2 separate regions of the Homo sapiens genome follow, and region 2 is linked to region 1. Evidence: promoter capture Hi-C in 16 types of primary human blood cells and fetal thymus (Javierre and others, 2016). All regions are on one chromosome and are shown on one strand. Each heading gives the region's core, a stretch centred on a gene start or on the middle of the fragment in contact. The rest is flanking DNA. Distances are from core to core; before and after follow the strand shown.

Region 1 (3,739 bases), core at 612-3,111:
TGGGCATATTTGTATTATTGTTTTCCTTTTTTTGATCTATTTTAATTTAATTGATATTATATATAACATTATATATATCTTATAGATAACATATATATAATAGAGTAACATATGTCTGTTATAAAGCATAACAAGATAATGAACACTCATGAGGCTTTTATCCAAGCAGATAACTAGAACCTTACTAATAACTTGCATCTACTATGTTTGTCCAAGTTGGTTGAATTTGGAAAACACAGATTCATCCAATACTTCTTTCACCAACCCAGTGGTTCTTAAGATCCTAATTTTAGAAAACAAATCAAGAGCATATTAGTATCACTTGTAAATCACACATGGAAATTAACCATAATACAGAGTTTGAAGCTAGTTATGAACCTTTCAGCATTCTAAGCTTTGTATTTCTTATCTTTAAACACTGTATGAATTCCTCCATCATAGACCTACAGCAGATTTTATATGAGATATTGCAGGTGGAGGACCACTTCTTAGAGCCCTCCTTTAGTGGGCATGTAGTCGTTGACTGGAAAAGAAGAAAATTGGAAAGAAAGAGGGGGGATTGCTGATAGTGGAAAAGAGGTAAAGACTTCCCAGCACAGTCAAAGTAGAGGGAATGTTGAGTGAAATGACCAGGGCTTCCTCAGGCATTCTTGTCCGTGAGTGAGTGAGCAGCTGAGTGTTGGGTGAGGGGCTGGTAAAGACAGAATATACTATCCTGTCATCTTTTACTCTACTATAATAAAATGTGATTAACTATCCTGATGCATATGAAATGCTTAGAATAGTGCTGGATACATAGGCAGCCTTATGTACACGTTTGCTAAAGCTGCTATGCTTGGGCAAGAATGTAGAGAAGCTACTCTGTCATACATACACGTTATTCCTTTAGATAAGGGACATTAACATGTAAAGTTCTCTCTTCATGTATTTACATTGAGTCATTAGAATTTAAGCCACTGGAATGTACGTATAGTAATTTACATTCTAGTGACTCAGTTTAAATAAAGGGTGAATATTACTTATTATGTTTACCAAGTTTGGAGTTTGTTGATGTATCCTCAGTGCCTCTGTGATCATGTCTCACACATAGTAGATGCTCGATCATATTTACTGAATAAATTTCTAAGAAATCAAAATTTCCCAAAAATTTACCCTATTAAAATCATGCAAGTTGCTCTCTCTTCTGAAATGATAAATGTATCAGTAGGCAGGAAGACAGCAGATTGCTAAATAAATTATTGTGAATCAGAATCTGTTGAATTTGAATAATGATCCCCAAATCTTGTTGCTGAACAGAATTATCTGAAAGAAATTCATAAATACAAATTTCTGGGGCCAACATTGGAGTCTCAATCAGCAGATACATATTTTTGTTTGTCTGTTTTACTTAGTTGAAGTCAAATTTTATTTGCAATTTAGTAATCTGCCATATAAATCATACCATAAATGACTGTTAAAATACCAATTTCACAAGCATACTTTTTCATGAATAAATAATACTCCATTGAATGAATGTCATAAATTACATCACTTTTTATTTTCATTGAACACAGGTTGCTTACATTCTTCCCATCACAGTAATATGTTTAAAAGTATTTGTATTTAAATGTTTAAAAATGTTTGTGTATTTAAAGATGTATTTGTTGACAAGAGGTAAATAGAAATTTTTAACAGTATGTTGTTGCTGAGGTATTTTCACTTGTTTTTTTTTCCCCAAGGTTTTTTCCAGCTTTATCAATATGTACTTCCCCATTTGTAAACTATCCAAGCAACTTCTAAGACCTGGCAGCAACTCCCTGGCACAATATGATGCAAGGAACACTCCCAGAGGAGAGAATGAAGCAAGTCACCTAAGCCTCCTGGGGATACATTTCATAAAATATTAGATCATGTCTTAGAAAAAAGATCAAGGGTGGCCCAGATCTTTGCTTTCCCTCGAGTGGCTTACGAGCTACAACTTTACCTCTGACTTGTCTATATATACACCCAAAAAAAATTCTGTTCTGGTTTTGCTTTCAAAACGTCTCAGGTTTTCCATTATTTTCCAAAATATGCTGGTTACCCAAATGTAGGACCTCAACTTCCTACTTTGAGTACTGAGGGATAGAATTCCTTAAAACAGTCTTGATTGATCTCTAGACTTACAAACTTCTTCCCCAGACAATCTATCCTGCTGCTAATGTTAAATTTTCAAAAAGGCAAAATTATGATTCTTGTTCAAATATGAAATGAACAAGGATTAAAGTGAGGGAATTAATGGCTGAGACAATCAGTAAGATGTTAAAAGCAGTTCAAGAGAGAACAGAATATATACATATAAATGTATATGTATGGGTATATGTGTGTGTGCTGTGTATATAAAATCAGGAATGCTGAACTGCAGTTGCTAGTAAATGCAAAACTGGTTAATGTCATATAATACAATAAAATGTAAACTTTGGGCTCATCTTTTCTACAGAGAAGGAACCAATTTTTTCTCAAACAATCAAAATTTATTTGCATAGTCACAAATTTTCTACAACCTAACTTCTACCTCTACTCAGCTGCAATATAGCTCAGTCAACAGAAAAACAATCTAAGGTGCGCCTTTCTATACAACCAGATAAACTCATCATTTCACTGAAAAGACACCCAGTAATCACTACTTCACCCATCATCTCTTATAATTACTCTTTACTGCTGTTTCAGCTTTTATAATACAGCCAATGTCATGATCTTCCCTCTGCATCCACATTAATCATTCCAGAATATACCCTCCACTCAACATAGGTCAATTTTTGCCACTTCCTGCACACTTCATAATTTTTCTTCCTGCGCTATCCCAAACTTTCTTCAAAATAATTCAGCCAACCTGTGTGGTAGATGCTTGACAGATAATATGAAGAGATATATTTTCTACCTTCAGGGAATTTACAGTCTAAAATGATCTTTCTCTTTTTCCTCCATGTATTTGCCTCCTCTTGATCAGTCAGTACTCACTATTCACTCTACTCTTGCAAAAAGACTTCTCCAAGTGCACCAGTCAACACTGACTCCTTTTCAATAACTGTGTGACAAATGGATGTGGCATGTGGGCTTTGAGTCCTTGATCAGTTTACAAAAGCATTTAGGACAAAGGTTGTATTTTAGCCTTTTATTTCAAGTAACTTCTACATCTATTACTTTTTGTGTTAAAACTGATAACTGTTACTTTAGATGCAAGGATTGTGTCTAGGGACTCAATGACTTCTGCAATCTTCATGATGAAATGTTTCTGGACCACTTTTGCTATCAAACTTTCTTGATGTAGTTAATTGAGCTTATCTCAATGTATGATTCACAAAGCTTTGATTTCAGACTGACAGCTGTCACATAAATATAGACTCAAATGAGCATAAATTTGCAGGTGCTGATCTATAAAAACATCTGTACTGTGAAGCAAATCACTTATAAAACCTCAACGGAAAAAAAAATTGGAAGAGGAGGTAGGAGTAGTCATAATCCTGGTATTTGATAAAGAGACTACTATCCTTTTAATTCCTTAATTTACTAAAAGCTTCTTACTATACTGATAATCTCATTTTCTGCTACTAAGAATGAGTAGGTAAAAATTATGCATCTCTATGAGGCTGTACATTTCAAAAAAAGAGTAGGAGAAAGTACACTCCCACAGGTTAAAATATTAGCATAAAGCAATTTCACATCCTTGGTTATATTATTATGGGTTTCTACTTGTAACAGTCACACAAAAGAGCCCTCA
Region 2 (3,950 bases), core at 1,132-3,631, 950 kb after region 1:
CAAATCTTTCATATCAGTTTTTGAGTGAGTCTTATCTCTTTTTCTGAAACCAATTCCTCAGGCTTCTATGTCAATACTTAGGAAAACTGAGAGAAAATTACTTGCAGTTTCTCCGTCTAAGGGCTGCCCCCGCCAGAACTGCACAGAACAATTTCATATACTTTGACACTCTGGTTCTGCTGGATTAAATCCAACCTGGGGTTCGGAATGTTTCACAAGATGGGATACAAACTAAACTTGAATTTAACGAAAAATTCTGGGAACGGCTAGTGTCTTTTAAAATACAGATAGGTGTAACATTCCCTTTTGAAACTACAGATAAATTTGAGAATTGTCCTTCATTGGAGAGCATTATTACAGAGCTTAGAACATTTTGTTCCCAATATATTATAAGTGGAGTGTGGGGGTACCTGCGAGATTAACTGCACATTTTCCTAAGTTATCAAATGCTTTTCTGTGTCTGAGGAAATTAAAAGACATTTTTATTTTCAAAAATAAAGGTAGCAGTTAAGAAAAAGCAAAGCATACATATCTATGTAATATAAAAAGAGAAAGCACATACAGTGAAAGATTAACAGTTGGGACCCTCAGGTGAAGGGTATCTGCGTGTTCACTGCATGATTTTTTCCCCAATTCTTCTGTAGGTTTGGAGTTTTATATATAAAGAGTTGAGGGAAGGCTAAAGTCAACAGTTTTAATTTAGTACTCGGTCTGATGATTTGCTTCAACCTAACATCTAGCTCATGATTTAATTACTTCATTACTATACATGCCTCATGACAGATGCTCTTGTATACACAATTCAGGTAAAATTGACTTGAAGTCCACTCAGCGTCACTGTATGTCTAAAAATAAAGAAGCTTGGAAAGCCTGGATGGAACCCTGAGAGACAGGCTAGTCCCTCAAGCAGTTGCTAAAGAGTTGAGCGGTTTCTTCTGAAGTTCAAGATAACACTACCGAAGAATGTTATCACCGCCTCGTTCTACAATTCGCTCAAGTGAATCCTGCTAAATCTTTGCTCTTCTCACGAGTCAGACCTACTGCTATTAGTGGAAACTACTTATGAAATGAATTTTATTTCTAAATTTCTAATCATCTTGCAATGCAATATTAGGCATTGTCCTCTCGGTCCGCTAACCTGATCAAACTGGGGTCCCTAAATCCAAACACGCACATACAGCGTGTCTTCTAGTACACAAAAAAATTTCCAAGTAGACAACCCATTGTTATCTCCTTGGTTTACTTCCTTGCTTAAAAACAAAAAAACAAACCCAGATGGCTACCATATACGCTGATAAATGATTCTGGTGTGTGTTGTTCTATAAAGAGAGCGGATTTGAAATGAGTGAATCGCTGAGTCCCGCGATGAGACAGGGTCTGCATTTTGCTCTTAAAATCTCGGGGGCGTCAGGACCACATCCCAGCTGAGCAGGCTGAGACTGCTGAGGAGTGCGGACGGGCGAGGAGGGGACGCGGAAAGGAGGGAGCGGCGACAGGCGACCCGTCCGGCACGGGTCCCGGCGGTGCCCGGTCCCCCCGGGCTCCAGGCCGCTCGCCCCCCGCCCCTCCCCTTCGCTCCCCGCACAGCTCTCCCGCCCCTCCCCACCCGGCTCCCTCAAGTCTCCACGAACGGAAATGGGAGTCACAGCGCCGGGGACCAGCGGAAACAAAACACAGAGGCGGCCGCGGGGGGGCCCTTGTGGGGGAAAAGGCCCCGGAACGAGGCCGGCCCGCGAGGGCCCGCGCTCCCCTCCTCCCCGGCGGCCGCACTCACCCACTCCGGAATCGGCCCTGTCGCCCCCGCCCGCACTCCAGAGCCGGCTGAGAACGGCAGCGGCGAGGGCTCCACGTGCAGCGTCTCTCCGGGTAAGACCTGCAGCTCCCGCGACTAGAAGTGTGAGGTCCCAGGGCCCTTCCCGCGGAATCGGCGCTGAGAAGCCCCAACCCCCCTCCCGCCTCCCAGGCACCTTCGGGTCCAGGACTACAACTCCCGGCAGGGTGCGCAAAACGACCGCCCAAGGCAACGGAGGCTCACGAGGTACAAGGAAGCACAACGCCCCAATCCGCTTTGTTTTACACAGTCTCACTTTCCCTGCACCTTTATACACTTCGATAACCCTAACGAACAGGACGCTGACTCGGAGGGGAGCTTGAACTAGGGGAAAGGCCACTCAAAGAGCGCATGCGTACAGAGCAAGGTTTCAAGGAGGGGAAAAAGAACGGGTCAAATTAGGCGAAGAAAAGATGGCGGAGGCTGTGCCAGGGGACCCGGAAGCACTTACCCTCCACTTCCTCCTCCTGTTTGGCTTCTGTCTCACCTAGACCCGTCCGGTCGCAGACTGTCTCCGAGACGCTTCCTGTCCGGTGAGCGTCGACCGACTGAAACGGCGGCCCATAATGCATTGCGATGGCGGGTAGGCGTGTGGGGGCGGAGCCAGGGCCGGAAGTAGAGCGGAGGTGGTGGCGGCGGAGGCTTTGGCAGCTCGGGACTGAGTGCAAGGTGACTGGGAGGGTAGCTAGATCAGCGTGGCCTTTTGGGACTCCAGTTCTGGGTTTTTTCACGAGGCCTGGGCTGCCTCTCACCTTTACTAGGAGGAGAGAGCAGCTCTGTGTCCTGGGGACCTTCACGGCCTGGCCCGGGGTCACAGCTGACCTCTACGTTTGTAGACCTTGGAGTTTGCCGTAGACCCAGAAATAAGATCGATACCCTCTCTGAGGGCAAATCGGGGCGGCGCGGGGGGCAGGGAGGCCCGGGGGTCTCGGGCCCGCAGCCTGGCTGGGGCAACCCAAGGTCAGGCGCGCGGGAGAGATTTTCGGCCAGGCCTACCCGCCCCGGGCGCACGGGAGCGTCTAGGCTACTTAGGCAGAACGTGTACCATTAAGAGGGAAAAAATTAGTCATAATATTGAAAGTTTGCATCCCACCTAAAAACGATGGTGCTAACACTTCATTAGGCGACTTTATGGATTGTTCATAGGAATATGCACTGAAGAGGCAGCGAACCTACTAACCTTTGGCCGGTCAGTCATCACTATAAATAGAACCATGCTCCCACCCAGAACAAGGCCTCTGCTCAGACTAGTGTTTTCTTACTGTTGCCTTCCCCAGTCTTTCTGATCATGTCAGACGCTATCATATGCTCTCGTGGCACCCGATGGTACTGGAATAGAGAATTTATGTCAGGTGGTATTTCACAGCTATTTGTGTAATGACTATCTTCTGCGTTTTAGTGGACAATATGCATTCACTAATCAGTGAAAAAAAATGAAAGGGATTAAAGGAGAAGGAACAAGTTTTGATATGGGATTATGTGTTCGTTTTTTGGATGAGTTCGTAGGACTTATAAGGGAGATGAGAACTGTTGAATGCTGTGGATAGATTTGGGGCTCAGGATGAATACTAAAATTAGAAATGCGATTGGGGAATCATAGGCACTTACATGGTGGATAATTGAAACAATGAAAGTGGATTTTACCCGTGTTGCAGAAGGAGTAACATCTATGCAGTCAGACTTAGAGCAAATTAACTGTGAGAATACGTGCAGCTTAATCTTTCTTAGATACAGTTTTATCATCTGTAAAGCAGGGATAAGAACACTTTAACTCTTTGAGAGTATTGCTGTAAGGGTACAAGGAAAGGATATATATGGAAGTACTTTGCACAGTATCTAGGGCTAAGCAAATGTCGGGTGAACCTATTGCTGAATGTTAAGCATGTCCTTAGTTTGCCAGAAGGGAAAGTGGCATTGAATTGCACAATTTTTTTTTTTGCATATATGTGTTAAGTTAGATTTTGCTGTGTAACTTTGACCAGATACTTTTTTTTTGAGACAGAGTCTCGCTCTGTCGCCCAGGCTGGATTGCAGTGGCACGATCTCTGCTCACTCCAAGCTCCACTTTCCAGGTTTACGCCCTTCTGCCTCAGCCTCCGGAGTAGCTGGGACTACAGGT

Evidence for each region. The method cuts DNA at HindIII sites, captures the fragments that hold promoters and counts their contacts. A CHiCAGO score of 5 or more calls a contact.
Region 2: the fragment with the promoter of GABPA here is called in contact with a fragment that was not itself captured in region 1 in 3 of 17 cell types (total CD4 T cells, naive CD4 T cells and non-activated CD4 T cells); the score reaches 7.9 in total CD4 T cells.

Annotation. Positions count from the first base shown.
Region 1 is chr21:26,682,259-26,685,997 of GRCh38, reverse strand. No RefSeq gene overlaps it. Among named protein-coding and RNA genes, the nearest start is that of CYYR1, 110 kb to the right of the region's middle. The HindIII fragment of the contact is 2,930 bases long and covers 397-3,326 here.
Region 2 is chr21:25,733,403-25,737,352 of GRCh38, reverse strand. GABPA (GA binding protein transcription factor subunit alpha) reads right to left here and starts at 2,381. Exons shown (of 10, transcript NM_002040.4): 1 at 1,775-2,381. ATP5PF (ATP synthase peripheral stalk subunit F6) reads left to right here and starts at 2,449. Exons shown (of 4, transcript NM_001003703.2): 1 at 2,449-2,500. RefSeq lists silencers at 1,388-1,597, 1,658-1,797, 2,738-2,837 and enhancers at 2,298-2,417, 2,438-2,547, 1,974-2,629, 2,948-3,027. The HindIII fragment of the contact is 6,464 bases long and covers 863-3,950 here.